Linked DNA regions of Homo sapiens: region 2 is linked to region 1. Evidence: promoter capture Hi-C in 16 types of primary human blood cells and fetal thymus (Javierre and others, 2016). All regions are on one chromosome and are shown on one strand. The core of a region is centred on a gene start or on the middle of the fragment in contact, and the rest is flanking DNA. Distances in the headings are between cores, read along the strand shown.

Region 1 (4,538 bases), core at 99-2,598:
ATGTTACATATTTAGTGTTAATTTTATCAAGACGGGGGACATACATACCATATGGTCTCAGACAAATCACCTAACTGCTCTGTATGTCAATGTTATTTAAAGTTAAATTTTACTTTCTTCAAAGGATTATGGTTAAGCTCAAATGACATTAGGTCCTTTATAAAAAGATAAAAGATAGTTTGTAATATTTTTTTAAATTATCAATACCTTCTGATGGACAGCATCAATGTGCCTTCGATTTAGGTTTGGAAATTGTGCTTTCACAATTTTATTTAGACAGCTACAACTTTAAAGTAAAAAGCTTGTATAATAATTAAAAACTGATTGATTTTAACGAAATCACAGAATTCAGAATCTCCTAGTCACCCACTGATTTAGGGCTAAATAGTTAAATAAATGACTGAGTGTCTGGTAGTTAATCTTTACACAGTTTCACATTCATGCCTGAAATAAGCAAATTGTACATAGGAGTTCAAAGTTTAGAACCTGACTTAAAAATATGTTGAGAAAGCGTGTAGTTTTTCATTAGTAAAGAAAAAAGGAAAAACAATATGCATATTGAGCAAGATTCTTTAAGCATATCATTGAGAAATGGGTAACATTACTCTGCTACGAGTGTATATTTCATATCTAGGATATGAATTACTTGCTGAACACGTTAAGAAAATCAATACATTTGCTTCAGTGTTACTACTAAATAACACCCCACTGGCCTCAAAATAAAAGCAGAAAGGAAAAAAGAAAATCTAGTATATTTTTAAAAAGTGTATCAACTTTCTTTTCTTAGGTTTCATAAAATGAAAGGGGAAGAAACTCTGTTCAAGAGTAGGCATTTTCACTTCTCTAAATAAATATTTAATATGACTACTAGCAGCATAAGACAATTAAAGTTACCAGAAAACAGAGGACTTAAAATCTGTTTAAGAATATCTTTCCCTCGTCTGGAGTTTGACCTAATCTTACCGCTTAAACTCAAATAAGAACAGGACTAACTTTGGTTTGTCAAATGTAACCATATTCAGTGCACTATGTTCATCAGTTCTTTTCTATTACATTAGTAAAGATCTTTTCATTTAACCCATTTCTAAAGGTGGGGCCTTTAGGAAGGTCATACCATTTTTATTTACAAAAAGAATATATATAAAAAAAGAAGAGAGTAGCAGAAAAAAACCTCTAAAACACTATGACAAGGATTCTAGCTGACAGAAGTTTCATTTGGAAAAAACATGGAGTAAACATTAGGGTAGAGAGTTTTTATCAGCGCCTCAAGCTTACCAGCTAGGATCCCAATGGAGTGTTTGGCTCCCAGAATCTCTCCAAGAACCTCTCAAGAATTCCTTGAAAATGTACAGGCCAGATCTTAGGGTGAGAAATTCAAAGAACTGCTCAGACTCCACCCAGTGGAGAATTTATAAATATTTTACTTTACTTCCTCTCCCCTAACCAATCGGTAATCTCCAGCCACTGTCAGAAATTTAAGCAACATGTGCTCCTGCCCACCATTTCAAATGCCAGAGCCTCCAGTGAGGGCTTCTTTCCAGAGGCAACTTTGCTCTTTAAACTCAGGTAAACACACACTTGTCCTTTAACTATATAAATCTCTGACCCCTGAACTGATGAGTTGGTCTTAGAGCTAAATTCCAAATTTTGCCTTTCTTCTTCACTTTGAGCTCTGGATTTTTGAGACAATACCCTCCTTCAAATACACTGAGGATTTTCAGTCTGATGGTTGAATCTATGACATTTAATGGGTAAACTTTTTAGTCAAAAGTTTAAAATAGGCTCTCAATTCCAGAATACACTCTATTGCCTAATATGTGAGTTTTCAAAAACTCCTAGGTAATAAATCTGGACAGTTAACAAGACAATGAAGGAAGAAAGATCTGAAGATTCAAGTGGAAACTAGCCTGGCAAACTTCATTAATGCAAATTATTCATTTAAGTCTGTGAATTGTCTTTTGTTCTAGTCTGACTACCTCTTTAGGCTTATTCCTGAGCTTGGGTCTTTTGATGAATATCCTTGTAGTTATAAAAACTAAGAGCAAAGACTTTCGATATTAGGACTAGGGATGAAGAATGTGCTTGAATAATTGAATGACTTATGCACACCTATGCTTTATTTAGTAACCCACAACAAATCAAGTAAAGTGTCATTTAATCATTTCTATCAAGTGTTCATTGTATAACCCTGAGCAATTCACTTAACCCTTGTGGAGGCTCAGTCTCCTATTTATCAAATGAACTTAATAATACCTTCCTCCCAAGATTACTGAAACGATAAAACCATGCAGGTTGAAGGCCATAGATACCATGACACTCAAGTCAAAAGTGACATATTGTCTTTTTTTTAATCTTAAGTAACCAGACAAAAAGTACTACTCTCCAGTTTCCAAGAGAGGGAGATAAAGTGCATGAAATTGCTTTAATACGAGTAATTGACCAGTGAAAATAAAATATATTTCACTTCATTGATCCTATCCTTACAATAATCCTATAAAGTAAGTAGACTACCAATTGATTAACTTAGAATAGTAAAAGTTTGAATCCATTCAGGAAATTTCAGAAGGTGTACTTTTTTTGCATCTATTCTGTGTATGCCTCATGCTGTAAAAACTTTGGAAGATTACCAGGCTCTAATATATGGGGAGCGAACCAGAGGGCGGATCTGTGTCATTTTTGTGTCACTCTTTTAAAGACTGACTATAGATTTAGAGAGCTAGATATGGACATTAAGGTTTTGTTTTCACAAGATCTTGCTTCTTCTAAAATCTTGTAATAATATGATTAAAAATTTCATCAAAATATTATCTTAAAAACTACTGTTTAACTTGTCACCTTTAAAGAACTTGCTTGGAGGTCTAAGCTATACTTCTATTTCTTATGTTTTATAAATTTCTTTCTTTCTTTAAATTTGTTACATTTGAGGAATAAAAATAAAATCCCAAGCCCCTAGATTAACTGAACGGACACGCTCTTGGCCAAGGGGATCCCAGAGTAAACTTGAAAACTAAGTTTTTGGCCATGACAGGATAGGAAGTGGAACACATACCCGCTCCATCACTAACTATGATTAGGCTTTCTGCCCTATGGCTAAAAAGAAACCAGTCATTTCAAAAGATTACACCAATGACATCAACCATCACCTGGTGTTATCCCTCTCTTTTGTGGTTTGGAACAAAAAGAAAATACTGATCATGGAATGTTTCTGGCTAGTCTATGGAGAATGTGCAGTAAAGGTTTTCATGTCCTCTGCTTCACATTGGGCTGAAAACTGCCCCCTCAGATTGTATTAATGCTGTCATTTTTTGAACACGGATCCCATGGAGAAGCATGAAACTCCATTGTGCATGTGCACATTTCTCCTTTCACAAATATTCATGGCTTCCCCTATAGCTTATTGAATATATATATTCAGCTACCCTGCTCAACATAAATTTCTGTTTCCTTTGCTCCTCCCTCAAAATGTCTGTTTCCAGCTTCTGATTAGAGGCTATACTTTTCAGAGGTCAGAATGATCACCCTGCAGGCTGCAATCCTTTATGTGAAATGAAGCTCTCCTTTCCAAATGTATGAACCTGTCATTCTTCAGTTGACACTTTCATTCATTCAAGAAAAGTATTAAGCATATTCTCTGTACCAAGCACAAAGTGAAATGCCAGGGATGTAATGGGGAGCAAAACTTGTATAATAACATAGGCCGCTAAATACAGAAGGGAATTATGAGAGAACGAGTCATGCGGGGAGGGGTGAAAGCAAGACCCGCTACAGGGCCAGCAGTCAAGGTTAAACAGAGAACACTGTGAGATACCATTCCTTCCTTTTGGAAACAGGAAGAAAAAAAGTGTTGCCAGAATAAGCTGTTGTACAATTCCGAGTTGTCTATTAATTTCCAGGTATGGCATCCTGCTTATAAAATGATATGTTTCCGAGAGGAAAAGACTAATTTTATCCTCCTCAGAGCTCTACCTATGTATGGAGCTAAATAAATATCTACTGAATTGGTTAATTTGTTTTTTTTTAATTAAGATCTAGTTTATTTTCTAAAAATTGATTATTGGAAATATGGGAAAGTTTTGTCCTCTCAAAAGGTAATCTTGAACCATGAACTTTATTCTTATTCTTCAGGGCATTTTCGCCATAGTTAGGCCAGTATCTAGCATTTAGTAGACTAAAATGGGTGCTTGCTGGATCATTAACTAAATTAAATTCAGATCAGCAAACTCTTTATGTAAGAATCCAAGGCTGCACTACCAGGCTGATCATAACACTCTAATGCTGGGTGCTCAGTATGTGAAATGAGTAATGAGATTAAAGACAGAGACAAGTTAGGAAAGAACTAATAAAAAAAACTGCAGTCTCAAACTTGGGTAAACAGAAAATTTCACAATACGCTATTTTTCTTAATTAAATAAAAACGCAGAGCTCACATGTGACTTCTTAGGAGGAAAATTTACTCTGAGTCATTATTGGAACTCTCCTTTCTTCTTTACACAGGGTGTTGGGAAGTTCCCAGATGGGAGGGGCAGATTAGCTTCCTT
Region 2 (4,315 bases), core at 410-2,909, 6.7 Mb before region 1:
ATGATGAGAGCCAGGTGTCTCACACTGGAGTGGAAGGCTACAGACAAGCAAGGGGAGAAGGCTGCAATGATCCATATGGTGCTGGAATTGAACTGAAGATAACAGCTCTAGTATTTGAACCTAGAACGCCTGTGTAGCTGTCAAAGATACAGATGGATACATATATAAATACTTACAGATATGCGTATTTAGTCAGGTTAGCATATCCACAAATATTTCCTTGCTCTGTCAGCTGAGAGTGTCTAGAAGCAACAACATCCCAAATGTCCAAATCTTGATTTCTAATATCATTTTCCATTAAAAGTACCCTTGGCTTTTTGGGGAAGCAGCTGATTCTAGGATTGGGGCAGGGAATATACAAGATGAGCCTGGAGCAACTTATAGAAATTAAGAAAATGCTCAAGAAAAAAAATCAATAAACATAAAACGAGGAGGGTTTGTCAAAAAGACACAAATGCCAACTAAAGGAAATCTCAATAGCCAAAGCTGGAACCAATATGAACAACAAAATAAAGTAGTATTGGATTATAACCCAAAATGTAAAATAAATATCCATGAGTCCATACTGACATAAATGATTGAATACATAAATAAATGCAGTACAGACAAATCTCCCATGCAGAAGAATTCCAAATAATTCATGAAGATATTCTGTCCTCATAAAGGTGGAGTATAACAATTTCCCATTCCTATAGTTTGGGCTGCACAGAGAGATGTCCTTCCAAATAGTATAGTATGGAGAGGAAAAGAAAAACAGTAACTTCACAGTGGAGAAACCTGACAAACCCTACATAGGGAGGTGGAAGGGCTTACTAGATGAAACAAAGGGGATCTTTGTAGAACTATAAAACTTTTCTGTATGACACTGTAATAATGGTGATAAAGGTTAGCATCAACAGTAATAAGTCATGTTGATAGTATATACCCTTGATGTGATGTGATGAGAAGATCACTTTACCTTACCTCTTAACTCAAGAAAAACCCATAACCTCAGTTAATGCATGAGAAAAATACAGGCAAAACCCAATTGAAGGACATTTGACCAAATGACCAATAAGTCGCTTCAAAACTATTAAGGTTATCAAAAACAAGGAAAGTTTGAGAAACGGTCACGGTCCAGAGGAGCCTGGAAGACATGGTGATGTACTCCGGACAGGATCCTGGAATGGAAAAGAATACCAGGTCGAAAACTAAGGACATCTGGAATAAAATATGGGCTTATGGGCTTTAATCAATTTTTAAAAAAGTATTAGATACATGAAAATGATACACGATTTACAAATCAATCGCCTAATATTTATCGAGCATATTGAGAGCCTGGCACTGTGGTAGGGCTGGGGACACAGAAAGAGGTAAGTGCCCTATGCTCAAAAACAGCGATTCATGAAAAATAAACAACTATGACAAAAAGAACAGAAGACTGTATCTCCTGGAGGCAGTAAGGAAGGCTTAAGTTGGGAGGACTATCAAACGCATCAAGGAGTTACTGAAGATTAACTGACCCGCCTAACGCAGGTCGGAAGCCCTCCTATCCATCCACCCAAATCACCCCTGCCCCACCTTTTCTCCTCCCTTGCGTTTACCCAATGGCAGGTCGGCTCCACGTAGGCCTACTTTGCGCGTGCGCATCATCGTTTCGACGCGCTCGGAAGCAACTTCCTTTGCCTGCTCACCGCCAGCGTAGGTGCTACCACCGCTGCCGTCGCCGCCGCCATTTTGATGGCAGGAAGAGTCCGGTTCTGGGACAGCTGGAGACAGTGGTGGTGACTGGTACGGATGGTTTCCGCCCATGTTAGCCCCTCCAAATTTGCCCGTGTTAGGGTTACAGCCCTCGGTATTGCCCGTATTTTCACTGGGTCCCTGTCGTTGTCCCCAGCCATCCTGTCCGTCTGTCTTTAGTCTCTTTTCTGCTTCCTCATCTTTCCGATCAGCCTGAAGCTTTGCTTGGAGCTGTTGTTACGCAGCCCCAACTTCTGTTAAAGCAGCCGCTTCGATCCTCTGGACTGAATTTTGGCCACCCAGCCCCCATTCCCCTCCCGGATCTGGTCCGAGTTGTTTTTCCGCGGCTGTAAACCGGAAGGGCTCTGAGCTGCACTGCCGGCTCCGGGCTGGGGGATCTGTGCCTGGCATGGGGGCGAGTTCTGGCCTCCTTAGGGTACGGGGAGAGCTTGGACTTTGGTCCTGACGTGGTGGACGACACACCTTCGAAGAGTGGACGTTACCTCAGTTGTCTGTTGTTAGAGTTTAATCGATCACTCGTCTGTTTTGTTGTGTTCTTTCCCAGAAATAACTTTACCAAAGGAAAGCTATTTTGCGAACTATCTTCTCCAGCGGAGATGGCCAATGTGAGTAAATTATCTCTTAAGAATCAGCATAGTAAACTCGTTTGGGAATGTTAGGAATGAAAGAACGGGTTTAATTATGATGGCATTGGGTGGTATAGTGTTAGATATAATGTATCAAAAATGTCAAGGGAAGCAAGTGGTGTGAAATTATGTTATGCTTTGAAGATGGTAGCATTCTTTGCACTGCAAATACACTTATTTATACAATTTCATTTGTACAGATGTGGAAATTCAAGCACCCTTTCGGTATTTTTTAAATACAGCGTTTCAGTAAATATTAGAATCTATGTTTAGGCCCTTTTTTAGCTTTTGGGTTAGCTAAACTGAAGGGTTTTTTTAATCTTTTTTTCTTTTTTTTAAAACAGTTTCCATATTGGAAGTGACCTTCTAAATCCTACAAAATAAGAATAGGAGATACTCTCACACACCAGAGATATTTATTGACTGTAACTTTGCAGTGATTAGACACATCCTATCTATAGAATTCATATGTAGCGGTCATAAGACATATATAAAAACAGCTACAATTAAAGTATAAAGTAATAATTTTTTTTAGAACCTACACGAAGGTGCAATGCAGATTCAAGTCTTTGTGGAGAGGAGTTTGGGATCACTTCATGAGGGAAACATTTAACTTGAGGTTTGAAAGATAGGTGGGATTTGTATAGTCTAAAATATGAGCGGGAAGGACAGGAAGGTATATTCAAAGAACTCCCCAACCCGCCTACCCCTTTGAAAAACTGAAAAGTGACTGCTGCCTGCCAACCTGAATGTAAGCTGCATGAAAGAGATAAGTGGGAGATAAGGTTGAATTGTGAGGTTGGTACCAAGTAAATGAGAGCCTTGAATGCCGAACTCAGTAATTTAGACTTCATTCTTTAAATTGTGATTATTCACTTAGAGCTGTGTGCTAGGAAGATTTATATGGCAGCATTTAGCCAGGATGCTATTTCTGTAATTGAACATGGTATATTAAGTCTAAAGTGTGACTATAGAGACAAGTCATAAGAATAGATTACTAGTCTTGGCCAAGTTCTATGGTGAATTTTTGCCTGCCCATAACCTGCACAGAAAGAGAATGCTGTAAAAGAAGTATGTGGTACTTTCAAAGGAGAGAAATTAATTGAAGTAGAATAGAATGCTATTATTTGACCTGGTTTTATTTTGGTTTAAATGAATAAATTATAATAGTTCAGTAGGGAAGATCCTTTTATAAGTCTTTTGTTAGAAAGAAGTTCATATTAAAATAAATTTAAGTTTCAGTATCCAAATGTACGATAACAATTTTTGTGTTAATTTATATGGATTGTAAATTGTGGATGGATGTTACTAATGAAATATGCAGATAGTGTTTCATAACAAGGGGCAAGAATGTTCATGTTTCAGAGTCTAGACAGGTACATTAAGAAGCCTTCATGGGGACTGTGACAAAGCCTTTCTGAACAAAGGGGAGCAACCTTTCCTTAGCTACAGTGATTTGTTGCTAACTAATGCCATTTGGTTATGTGAATCCAATACTGCCAGATCTTCTGAGTTTTCAAGAAGAGCCAAATTTCTGGACCTTTTGTGTAAATATTGCGATTTCTCAATGTTTGTATTTAATTCAAATATCTTGCAACACTGTGGGATGCACAAAAATGTCTGGATAGATGTGGATGCACTACATAAACTACCAGTTTTTAGTTTTTGTACAGACCATATTTTTTCCTCACATGATCAAAAGCAGAACTTAGTCCTAAGGCAGTGCACAAAAGGCACTTTCTCTTTATATACTAATAAGGATTTTACAGTTAAAACATAATAGCATGTCATCTTCCCAAGTCTAGAAGTTTGAATTTAATCATATATAAAATAAATGCTTTTCCTCAAACTAGAATGAACTCTCTGCTGTAATTTTGACTTGCTTTTTGGCTATTATTTTTAATTATGTTCACCAGCTGAACCAGTCATAAAATCTGTCAAGTTGTCAG

The links. The method cuts DNA at HindIII sites, captures the fragments that hold promoters and counts their contacts. A CHiCAGO score of 5 or more calls a contact.
Region 2: the fragment with the promoter of MMADHC here is called in contact with the fragment with the promoter of KYNU in region 1 in 1 of 17 cell types (total B cells); the score reaches 5.9 in total B cells.

What each region holds. Positions count from the first base shown.
Region 1 is chr2:142,874,474-142,879,011 of GRCh38, reverse strand. It overlaps KYNU (kynureninase), which reads right to left and starts at 1,348. Exons shown (of 14, transcript NM_003937.3): 1 at 1,276-1,348. The HindIII fragment of the contact is 4,288 bases long and covers 1,273-4,538 here.
Region 2 is chr2:149,585,119-149,589,433 of GRCh38, reverse strand. MMADHC (metabolism of cobalamin associated D) reads left to right here and starts at 1,659. Exons shown (of 8, transcript NM_015702.3): 1 at 1,659-1,770; 2 at 2,285-2,345. The coding sequence starts at 2,337. MMADHC-DT (MMADHC divergent transcript) reads right to left here and starts at 2,076. Exons shown (of 3, transcript NR_110240.1): 1 at 1,584-2,076. RefSeq lists enhancers at 1,613-1,932, 1,249-2,448. The HindIII fragment of the contact is 5,011 bases long and covers 1-1,940 here.